Regions from separate parts of the Homo sapiens genome. Here region 2 is linked to region 1. The links are contacts of gene promoters, found by promoter capture Hi-C in blood cells and fetal thymus (Javierre and others, 2016). All regions are on one chromosome and are shown on one strand. Each heading gives the region's core, a stretch centred on a gene start or on the middle of the fragment in contact. The rest is flanking DNA. Distances are from core to core; before and after follow the strand shown.

Region 1 (5,992 bases), core at 1,309-3,808:
TCCCCAGGTAACCACTGATCTGCTTTCTCTATATGTATGTCAGTTTGTATTTTCTGGTGTTTTATATAAATAGAATCATACAGTATGTTCTTTTTTGCCTTGCTTCTTTCACTCAGTATAACGATTTTGAGACTTTTCAATGTCATGTAATAGTTTGTCTTTATTGCTCAGTAGCATTCCATTGTATGGATATACTACAATTTATTCATTCATCCACTGATGGATTTGAGTTTCTTGTTGTTTTGCTTTGTGTGTGTGTGTGTGTGTGTGTGTGTGTGTGGGTGTGTGTGTGTGTGTGTGTTTGGCTATAACAAACAAAGCTCCTATGAACATCCACATTCAAGTCTCTGGGTTTCATGTTTTCCTTTTTCTTTGGTAAATACCTATAAGTAGATTGGTTGAGTCATATGGTAAGTATACGTTTAACTTCTTAGGAAACTTCCAAACTGATTTCCAAAGTAGTGGTGCCATCTTACACCTCCACCAGCAATGTATGACCATTTCAATTGCTCTGCGTCCTCACCAACATTGGATACAATCAGTCGTTTTAAAGTTAACCATCTCATTGCATGTTTTTGTGGGGTGTATGTATGTGTGTTTTTAAATGCACTTTGGTTTGGCCAACGCTTGGTTTCATTTATACCAAGGGGAGCATTTGCTAGGTTTATGGGGAATAAAACCAGATTATTTCTGTTGTTCTAGGATATTATTAATAGAGTCCTCTCTTCACCTCCAGAGTGTCCTGGTTTGTATGATAAAATATGTTTTCTCTGCTTCCAGCCCAAGTAGCCACGCTCCACGGCTGTGCTTCCACAGCCACGTTGCGCATCAAGGCATTCTGCTCAACGAAGAGTTTTCTCTGTTTTCCTGCTTGTCTTAAACTGTTTTTTCCTTACCGCACCAGGATTTCAGTGCGTGGCATAATGTAGCCCAGTGTTTGGGTGGGAGATGATGGTAGGTAGCAAGGCATTTTTGCGATCAAGTGCAAATAGCTTGCCTAAAAATAAAGCCAATAAAGAGAACCGTGGAGCCAGAGATGGAGGCAGTCCTGCCATGTCCTAATGACCCCATCATCACTTGGGTCGGATGCAACCAGACTTGAGGTAAGATTCCTTACCTTAACTTTTCAACAAGGAACCAAAAATTTCCCCCCGACCTTTTTTTTTTTTTTTTTGGTCTAAGCTAGTTTGACTTGGTTTTCTGACCAATATACATAGCAGGGGAATGTGCCTCAGAAAGGCAGTAGCATTTTCCAAACTTGGGCTGCCGCTAATTTTACAACCAAAGTACCTTCCGCCTGTGAGAGGTACTATTTTTGCTGACCCAGTCCTTGGAATTGAAACCAGATGCACTGGTCACATTGGTTGGGGATGAAACTTCAGAGAACACTAAACGTCCAGGGTCAAAGTATTCAACGATATCACCGCATGATTTGCTTAATCGAATACTCTAGCTCTAGGTATCCACTATAATGCAGAGGGCTCTTTAATCTTTAACCAAATTGTCATTTAGCAGTGTGATGCAAAAACTCTTCTGGGTTTTGGGAAGCAGCCCCCATTTCCCTCCTTCGTAATGATTAGACTTAATATTACAAAAACTTATCCTTGTTTACTCACAGCGCTAAATGTGCAAAGGAGCAAACCTGTATTTGACCTATGCGAACACACAGGAGGGTGGTGCGTGCCCTCTGCTAGGAGCACAATGCGTCGCTGGCGTTATTAGAGGACATCTCTCTGAGCGGAGCAAAGGTAATACACTGGTGGAAGAAAAGAAAAGGCCGAAAGTGGGGACAGAAATTAAGACGATCCCATTCAGTCTCCTCTGGAACGTTCTGCAAAATTCCGTGAGACCCTGGACCTACAGCGATGCACTCTCAGGGACTGCCCCGGCCTTCATCCCCACACCTCAAAGACAGACGAAAAGCAGCTGAGCAGATCTCGCCTCGGGCAATCCTAAACAGCCTCTACCAGGCACAACCAGTCCTAGGCCCCGGGCGGCAACCATGGTCCGGGGGCAGCTGACTTAGGACAGCCTCCCTGTGACCCGCCCTCGCCGGCACGGCGCCGGCTCCGCCCCTTAAGCCCCCTAAGTCCCGCCTCTGCGCTCCCGGGGCCTACCCCCGCGCTCATGGCCCCGCCCCCGCTTTTCCTACCCCATCGCGCCCTGGCCCCGCTCCCACACTCTATGACCCCGCCTCTCGCACTCCAGGCCCGCCCCACGCGCTCCAGGGTTCTGCTCTCCACCCATTTGTGCCAGGCCACGCCCCCACACCCATGGCTCCTCCTCTCGCACGCCAGGGCCTCCCCTCGCGCTCTCTGGTTCGTTCTCCACCCTCTTGAGCCTTGATGCCGCCCCCTCTTCCATGGCCCCGCCTCTCCCACTCCAGGCCCGCCCTTGCGCTCTCGGGTTCCTCTCTCCACCCACTGGTGCCAGGCCTCGCCCCGCGCCAGGGCCCCTCCCCCACGTGCCCTCGGGAGTCCCGGGGAGGAGTTGCCGCGCGGAGGAGGCGTGGCCGCGGTGCCTGCGGAGGCGCGAGCGGCGCGGCGCGGCGCGGCCGGGACTTTGGCTTTGACACCGACTGCGAGCGGGAGCCGTGCGGCTGGTGCTGGGTCTGGACTGGCTCTGGCGGATCCCCGCCCGAGTTGGGCGCAGGACTTTTTGCCGGGGTAAACGCAACTGCGGCGGCGCCGCCGCAAGCCCCGGTGCAGCCTCGGCGGCGGGTTTCGCCGCCGCTGCCGCCGCCTCCGAGCAGCCCTGCGGCTTCTATTCACTCTGGGAGAGCGATGCTAAGTTTCTCCCATAGAAAGAGCCGGGACACGCAGACCGAAGCGGCGTAGTCGGCTTCCAGGGCCTGACCAGTGACCCACACCCGCGCGGACGCCTAGGCTGGAGGCAGGGGGCCCGTGCTGTCCCGGGCTGGGCTCAGGCTTCCGAGCCGCAGGTGGAAGAGGAACCGGCGCCCCGCAGAGCGGCCGAGAGGTGGGGCGCGGGGACCCGCGGCAGGTCGGGTGGGGGGTCGATAAGCCCCTTCTCAGTGCCCGCTCCGGGGAGCACGGACTTCCCAGGTTGCAGGTAGCGCTGTGTCAGATGCGGAGCGTGGGGGAGGTGGAGTGGCCACCCCGTCTGCGCGAGCCCAAGTGTGGGTGACCCAAGTGTCAGAGTTGAGAGAGGCCTGGAGGAGAGGCATGAGGCTGATGGGGATAGGTCTCTTCCCAAGAGAAGCGGCTCGTAGCCTTTTTGGACTCCAGTGTGATAAAACCCGGACGTCCCTAGAGGAGAATCCACATGGGCCTAGCCTCATTGTGCCTGCGTTTTTAGGGGTTCACGGGCAGCCACCAGTCCCCGACTCCTGGTTACTAACTCTAGCACTAGGTAGGGGGTGCTAATGCAAATTTCTTAATTCAATGGGTTTCTATGTTTATTGATTTATTTTCTAGGCGGCCAAGTGAAAGGTAATTTTGGACACGCCAGGCATGGAAGATTCGGTGTTTGTCTATAGTAACCTCTTCAGTCCCTGAATCCTGCACCTTCCGTTTTTCTGTGCTTGTACGGCCTACTGGGCTTCCTCCCTAGCCAGAGAGCTCTTCTGCAGTGGTGCGGCCTTCCCGGGAGCCTGATCCTGGCGGACCATGGGGAGCACCCTGGGCTGCCACCGCTCCATCCCCAGGGACCCCTCGGACCTGTCCCATAGCCGCAAGTTCAGCGCAGCCTGTAACTTCAGCAACATTCTAGTGAATCAGGAGCGGCTCAACATCAACACTGCCACGGAGGAGGAGCTGATGACCCTGCCTGGGGTGACGCGTGCCGTGGCACGCAGCATCGTGGAGTACCGAGAGTATATCGGTGGCTTCAAGAAGGTGGAGGACCTGGCATTGGTCAGTGGTGTAGGCGCCACCAAGCTGGAGCAGGTCAAGTTTGAGATCTGTGTGAGCAGCAAGGGCAGCTCAGCGCAGCACTCTCCCAGTTCCCTGCGGCGGGACCTGCTAGCGGAGCAGCAGCCTCACCACCTGGCCACAGCTGTGCCCCTCACCCCACGTGTTAACATCAACACAGCCACCCCGGCCCAGCTCATGAGCGTGCGAGGCCTCTCGGAGAAAATGGCCCTCAGCATCGTGGACTTCCGCCGTGAGCATGGGCCCTTTCGCAGCGTTGAGGACCTAGTGAGGATGGATGGTATCAATGCCGCCTTCCTGGACAGGATCCGGCACCAGGTGTTTGCTGAGAGGTCCAGGCCCCCATCCACCCACACGAACGGGGGACTGACCTTCACCGCCAAGCCTCACCCGAGCCCCACTTCCCTGAGCCTGCAGAGTGAGGACCTGGACCTGCCGCCAGGGGGGCCCACCCAGATTATCTCCACTCGGCCGTCCGTGGAGGCCTTTGGAGGCACAAGGGATGGGAGGCCTGTGCTGAGGCTGGCCACCTGGAACTTGCAGGGCTGTTCCGTGGAGAAGGCCAACAACCCCGGGGTGCGAGAGGTGGTGTGCATGACACTCCTGGAAAACAGGTGAGGACAGGAACCACCATGGGTGTTGGGTGTGAAGGCAACTTGTGCGTGACCTCATCTATGGATGCAAATGAATGGATTCTTTTGCGGGTAGGGAGGGTGCAAGAGTTTTTAATCAATGTTCTTGAAGCCTCAGCCAATACCGTCACCTGAGAATGGGCTGTCCTTCTGCTCCAGAATTTTCTGAATACAGCTGGGCTTGTGACCCATGTCTTGAGTGTGAGATATCTGAGACTGATTCATAATTTTGGGGTAAGCAGAGGTTGTGTTTTTGTTACTGCTTTGGAGGATGCTGGGTCTACACCAAGTCAGGCACTCAGAGCATGGGAACTGGTGCAGTTTCGCATGTGAGAAAGAGCTCATTGGATTTTGTTTATTAATGGGAGGGAAAATCATATTTGTTCCATCAAATATGCCTATTTGTGCACACAAAATCATCTTAAAGGCCAAGTATTTGCAAACACATACAAGTGTCTATATTTACCAAAATGCTATGAATGAATCACTCTCCATTCTTTTTCCTTATTTAACCTGGAGTTGGTTTTCAGCCCTAAAATTGTAGCCCAAAATGTGTGTAACCTTTTCTGTGCCATAGCCAGAAAAAAGCAAGCTGACGTGTGTGTGTGAAAATTGGCCGGATTTTCCCCATTTAAACCAAAGAAAAGAGTCCAGTAGGATAGGCCGTTACCACAGAGCGTTTATGTTATTCACAATACTGCTCTCTGTAGGAATTTCTGTTAGCCTCGTCATAAACAAAAACAATATTATTTTGGCAGTAACTCCTGCTGTTAGTAAAATAGCAAACTGTATAATGTAATCAGGTGTGGGAAAGAAAGAAATATTTGTGATGGTCCCTTCCAGGTCATAAGAGCTGTGATCCTGGACTTGAGGCGTTTTGCCCTGCCACCCACCAGGGGTGCAGTGTTTGTGGCTACTCGTTGATTTCCTTTGCACTGAGTTGTTGGTGAGGCTGGCGGCGGGGGGGCAGCAGTTTGGTGACACGAAGTGAACTCTCAGCGGGAAATCACAGTGCATGATGGCAGATCACCAGGAAAATTAGTGAGGAGAAAAGCAGGTCACAACGTTTCCTTGGCACTGACCCAGTGGCATGCTCTCATCACTGAGAGAGGGACTCCACACTGGGTCAGGGAACTGGACTGGGGAGCCCTTGAATGCTCTCCCTGCACTGCTGTGTCCTCTCTTTTGCAGCCTAACTCACTCCTTCTGCAAAGTCTTCTTGTGCACAGGTGAGAGCTGTACTCGGCACCGGGAGATATTTATAAAGAATGGCTTGATAATTGTTCTCTTTATCCATAGCAGCATGGGCGTGTGAATGGGAAATGAGGAGGGGAGAGGCAGGAAAGACAAAGCTGCTTAATTCCTATTATGCTTTCTAGTGGCTCAATTTGGGAGGGGGGTGATGGATTAGGATCAAAAGTTGGTCCAGTGGGACTGACCAACCAGGCAGCCCCTGCCTATTTATTA
Region 2 (6,213 bases), core at 354-2,853, 67 kb after region 1:
CCATAAAAAAGTGAAACTGCAGATATGGGGTGACTGCTGTACTATGTGAAAATATCACCCTCTTTTTGCTAAAAATATGTGATCAAATGTAAAGTTGGGCCTTAGAAATAGGCATGTTATGGTGGCTTGACAAGCTTAGGATGGGAACATTAGAAGGTGGAAGAGAAGTAGGCTGGTGGGAAGGAGAATGGCGATTTTGTCCAGATGAGGAGGGAATTTGGTTAATAAAAGCTTAAGGCTGGAGCCTAGGAGAAAGGCCTGGAGGAGAAGTGTTAATACTGGGTTTAGGTAGAGCAAGAAAGTGGGGTTTCGGGTTGGTATCTGGAAGTCTGTAGGAAGTTCCCTGCAGAAAATAAGAGAAATTATTTTTCCTTTGTGGGAAATATCAAAAACCAAATCATTGGATTGTAACATACTTTGAAATCCATCTTAGAAAATAAGATGGATCGATGTCTGATTGGGTGGGCAGATGTGTGATAATGATAATGCTAATTGTGGAATGTAGGCAGTGTGTCTATGAGTCTTCACCATATAGTGCCCTAAACTTTCTTGTAGATTTAAAAAATTCAAAATTTAAACGTTAGGAACAAAAGAGCAACTAGATGGCAAAGCCTAAACTCGTGGTCATTTTACAGGAAAAAAAAAATCAAGTAACAAGGAATCTCCTATGAATTCCAAAATACAAAAGGTGGGGACCTGGCTGGGTGTGGTGGTGTACACCTGTAATCCCAGCACTTTGGGAGGCCGAGGCAAGAGGATTGCTTGAGTTTGAAACCAGCCTGAGCAACTTAGCAAGACCCTATTTCAAAGAAGGAAGGAAGGAAGGAAAGAAAGGAAAGGAAGGAAAGGAAGGAAGGAGAGGGGAAGGGAGGGGAGAGAGAAGGAAAGAAGAAAAGAAGAAGAAGGAGGAAGAGGAAGGAAGGAAAGAAGGAAAGAAGGAAAGAAAAGAAGAAGGAGGAAGAGGAAGGAAGGAAAGAAGGAAAGAAGGAAAGAAGAAGAAAGAAGTGGGGACCAAAAACAGCCCAATCCCCTAATTACTGGCCTGATAGTTGGCCAGCATGCATTTAAAGAGAGAGAGAGAAAGAGAGAGAGAGAGAGAGAGAGAGAGAGAGAGTGTGTGTGTGTGTGTGTGTGTGTGTGTGTGTGTTCATTCTCACAGGCTTGGATACACATAAAGAGATATATAAAACATGAAAGATTACAGTATTTGAGGGGAAGCTAGTGAATGGAAAGGAAAGGTAGGAAAATCAGACATGATTGGCCCCTGGAAGTCCATCCCACATGGCCTGAGCAGGTTGCGGGAAGAAGAGCACAGGAAAATGGAAGTACAGAAGGGAACAGGCCCAGCTAGAGTCCCCTCTGCTACCAGGTGAGGTCGTGGAGGATGGGGATGCTGTCCCCACAGTAGATGCAGAAAACTAGTTTGATCTTGTTGTTTCTCATGCTTCCTCCAGTGAAAGCCAAGAAATAATCAAAGAACAATTCAGGAAGAACAATTGGGAAGAAGGGCGGTAAAAATGACTTTTTCCTGAAGGAACAAATACCTTCAGATGATGTTTGCAGCATTTTCTGATTTTATTGAGCAGATGGCTCCTTCTTGGGTGAAAGCATGTTGAAAAACTTAAGGGGGAAGGGAAAGGCTCAAGTTCCAAGGAGAAGTCCCCAATTCACTTGGGTTAGGGAGGTGAATGGTACCAGTCAGAGAGCCCTCCTTGCTTTGAAGACATCTGGACTTGTATCATCATAACCACGTGGATTAAGAATAACCAAAAAGAACCTCATGGAAGTTCCATAGCTTCATCTCTTGCCAATTGGATGTGACACTGGGGAGGAAGTTTGGGATGAAAGAAAGAGGTACCTGTAGAAGCCCTGAGCTCCAGTGGCAAATGGCACTTTGCTCTTTCTATTCATTTGGCCCCGTTGTCCTCATCTCTAGAGCAGAGCTAATGGCATCGACTCCATCTCATATCCTGCAGAGAACATGAAAATGTCTCTGATGTCTGTGGTTCAGAGTGTGTCAGATGGTATTGAAAAATGCTTTGTCCTTCTCCTTTCACCCTCTGCCCATAACAAACTTATAACTACACTGAATTCGGTTTTTGTTTTGTTTTGTTTTGTTTTTTTGAGATGGAGTCTCGCTCTGGTGCCCAGGCTAGAATGCAGTGGTGCAATCTCGGCTCACTGCAACCTCCACCTCCTGGGTTCAAGTGATTCTCCAGCCTCAGCCTCCTGAGTAGCTCGGATTATAGGTGCCCACCACCACACACCACCACACCTGGCTAATTTTTGTATTTTATTAGAGACAGGGTTTCACCATGTTGGTCAAGCTGGTCCAGAACTCCTCGCCTGAAATGATCAGCCTGCCTCAGCGTCCCAAAGTGTTTAGATTACAGGCGTGAGCCACTGCGTCCAGCCAACTACACTGAATTTGTAAATTATCAAGGTAGTAATTTTTCTCAGTTTGAGGGAAGAGTTTCATCCTTCAGTTTAAAATAACCTAATATGTAATTTCTTTTCAACATTTTATACAACCTTATCTTTTGGAGCTCTGTTCCGTATCATCTTTTAATAAACTTGCATTTTGAATGAATGTTACAGCTTTGAAAGTATTTAAGAGCCAGCTCTATGGTATGTGTTTTGCTTATTATCTGTGTATCTTTTTACTTTTAGCTTTAGAAGATGGAGAGCAAAACTGTTTTGTATACTCAGCTCCAGAAAAGTTATAATATTCTTTGTACTTCTTTAAGAAGGATGAGCCTGGATTGATCTGGAATTAAAGTGCTAACTGTTAAAGAATGTAATCAGATTATTTAATAATAATAACAGGGACACTGCAGGACTGCATATACCAGCCTGGCACCATAAAATCTGAACTCAGCAATTCCACCGTAACAGGAACATTTTCAGGTTGTGGGTCAATCATTTAGATCCTGTTTTTTTAAGTGGCTAGAATACCAGTGTGATTTTGAGGAATGAAAGCTTTATATTCTGATCAGTTCTAAAAAAGGTAAGAATCATGTATGAGGTCATGTCCATTTCAATTCAGATAAATATAATAACTGTCATTTATGGTGTACCTATTATATACTAGAAGCAATATATTGTAATAAATGCCATTTCAATGATTTTCTAAATAGCTGCAGTCATTATCCTGATTTTACAGATGAGAAAATCCAATCTCTGATCAAATGCCTTTTTATGGGACAGGTCCTCTGTGTCCCCCCCACAGCACACTGGCCACACATGTACCTGTGCTCCCTGTCACTCATACTCCCTTACCTGGCTTTATTTTTAATACATTTATCATCACTAGACACATTATATAGTGGCATTTATTTTATATTGTATTCAGGATCGTTAACCCTTGAACAACATGGGGGTTAGGGGAGCCAACCCGCCCTCCCCTGCAAAATTGAAAATTCACATAGAACTTTTGACTCCCCCAAAACATAAGTACTACCAGCCTACTGTTGACCAGAAGCCTTACTGATAACCTGATAGTCAATTAACAAGTATTTTGTATGTCATATGTACTGTATGTTGTATTCTTACAAATAAAGTAAACTAAGGAAAAGAAAATGGTATTAAGAGAATCATAAGGAAGAGAACATATGTTTACTAGTCATTAAGTGTAGTGGATTATCATAAAGGTCTTCATCTTTATCATCTCCATGTTTTGAGTAGGCTGAGGAGGACAAGGAAGAGGAGGGGTTGGTCTTGTTATCTCAGGGTGGCAGAGGCAGAAGAAAATCCACCTGTAAGTAGACCCGCACAATTCAAACCTGTATTGTTCAAGGGTGAACTGTATATATAACAGAAATATTGCACATTATATAATTATGTGATAATTATATAATGTTTGTTGCAGATCCTTCCTGTCTCAGTGTTTTTGGAGTACAATAACAAAATACTATATACTGGGTGATTTATAAACAAAAGACATTTATTTCTTACAGTCTGGAGGCTGGCGAGTCTAAGATCAAGGCACCGGCTAATTCAGTGTCTGGCAAGGGCCCATTTCCTAGTTCATAGATGGCATCTTCTAGCGGGGTCCCCACTTGGTGGAAGGAGCAAAGCAGCTCTCTTCGTGCCTCTTTTATAAAGTCACTAAACCCTCATGTCCTAATCACCTCCCAAAGGCCTCACCTCCTAATGCCATCACACTGGTCATTAAATTTCAACACAGGTGGCTCACGCCTGTAATCCCAGCACTTTGGGAGGCCAAGGCAGGCAGATCGCTTGAGGTCAGGAGTTCGAGACCAGCCTGGCCAACATGGCAAAACCCCATCTCTACTAAAAATACAAAAATTAGGCAGGCGTGGTGGCGGGTGCCTGTAATCCCAGCTACTTGGGAGGCTGAGACAGGAGAATCGCTTGAACCCGGGAGGCAGAGGTTGCAGTGAGCCAAGATCACGCTACTGCACTCCAACCTGGGCGACAGAGTGAGACTGTGTCTCAAAAAATAAATAAATAAATAAATAAATAAAAGTAATAATAAGAAATAAATTTTAACACAGTAATAATAAGAAATAAATTTTAACACAGACCTCAGCACCTCCTCACTATTGCATGCTGGGTGGAGCTGGTGTGCAAGGGCTCTTGGGAGCTTTTTGTGCGCATCTCTTCCCAGCTCCACACTGAGTCACACCAGACTGGTGACTTGAAATGGGCCTTGGTGGGAGTATGTAAGACACCACAGAAATTGGCAAATGAGGCAACTCCTCTGCATCCCCCACCCCTAGAGCCAGTGGTTAAACATTGACCTGCAGGCCACCACTCCCCACCCCTCATTAGAACGTAAGCTTCGTCAGAGTCAAGATTCTGTTTTGTTCCTTGCCCTATCTCTGGTGTTGAGAACTATGCCAGGCACATAGTAGATGCGTAGTAAATATTTGTTGAATAAATAAAAAGCAGTGCATGCTTTTAAATTATATAAGCTTGGCCTCATCCCTGTGTGGACCCTGAATAAGCCACTTCATTGCTCTGAAGCTGTAAAATAGAAATCGAAATCCCTGCCTCTTCAGTTAAGGCTTAAGGTATCCCAAAGCCAAGGGTCAGGGGGAGAAGGATGAAAAGTTAATATTGTAGTGTACAAATCATACAGTCAGTCCTTGAATACTTAGTTTAGCTTTAGAATCTGCAGTTTGTTACAACTGTGTCTGCAAGGAGAAACTTGCAGATGTAAGTAAAATAATATAATCAAGGCTTAGCAGGGTACCAACATCTGGAAAACACTTTCAACTGAATCCTCTTTCTCCTCTTCATTGGTTCTTTCTACATTTCAGTCTGTTCCCCTGCCTTTTCTTCCAAATTTTCCAGGAATAAAATTGCCTAGTCTACTTTAGTTTTATCTCCTGCAGTTAAGCCAAGTCATTAACTTTCTAATGGACTTTCCTGTGGAGCCTCAGATCTTAAATTAGGTTAAATGTTTCAGCTTTTTAAAAAGTGGCATTAAATAGGCAATTTGCTGTTGGGAAAAAAAGCTTGTATATGGAAGTGTTTCCTAGTCTTTGGTCAGCAGCCAGCCTGACTTTTACTGTTCATCATCACCCCTGTTCAGTGGGATCTCAGTGGAGTGAAAGGTTTCAAGTTGACTGGAAGCAGAGCTCTTTCTCTGTGCCTTCCCAAGGTGGGTATGAGAAGGAGAGATCGATCCTTTACACAGGTGGATAGAAAACGGGCCGACAGTCAGTCCACTCATAATAGCTGGACAAATGTTTCCTTGTTTAAGGATGCATAAAGACTAAAAAAAGGCTGTGGAAAAGTCCTGCAGAACAAGGTAAAAGCAAGAGCTTCTGTAGACTGAGATGGAGTTTCTATTTTGAAAAACCATCTACAGCAGACTCCAGAAGATAGTTTTGGGAAAATATGTGGCATCCTCAGTATACAGCAAAAGGACATGGTCTCCCAGGGCCAGGAACAGTAAAACGTGAAGAAAGGATATTTGACATGGAAAAGCAACAGAAAGGGAAAAGCAAGGAGATGGATTCCATAAGGAAAGGTTTTAAGGATCCAATAGCAGAACTAAAATCCAAATTAGCAAGAGTATAGAAAAGTATTCATGTATAGTAAACTGAATAATGGCCTCCAAAAGTTTTCCATATCCTAATCCTTGGCACTTGTGAATGTTACCTCACATGGAAAAAAAAAAAGTTTTGCAGATTTGATTAAATTAAGGATCTTGAGGGGTATGGGGGTTATACTGGGTCATCT

What was found. The method cuts DNA at HindIII sites, captures the fragments that hold promoters and counts their contacts. A CHiCAGO score of 5 or more calls a contact.
Region 2: a fragment that was not itself captured here is called in contact with the fragment with the promoter of EEPD1 in region 1 in 1 of 17 cell types (monocytes); the score reaches 5.6 in monocytes.

The regions. Positions count from the first base shown.
Region 1 is chr7:36,150,696-36,156,687 of GRCh38, forward strand. It overlaps EEPD1 (endonuclease/exonuclease/phosphatase family domain containing 1), which reads left to right and starts at 2,559. Exons shown (of 8, transcript NM_030636.3): 1 at 2,559-2,979; 2 at 3,438-4,507. The coding sequence starts at 3,630. RefSeq lists a silencer at 1,971-2,690. The HindIII fragment of the contact is 12,213 bases long and covers 1-5,992 here.
Region 2 is chr7:36,218,694-36,224,906 of GRCh38, forward strand. The region is part of intron 2 of EEPD1 (endonuclease/exonuclease/phosphatase family domain containing 1); the gene reads left to right. Among named protein-coding and RNA genes, the nearest start is that of EEPD1, 69 kb to the left of the region's middle. The HindIII fragment of the contact is 2,748 bases long and covers 230-2,977 here.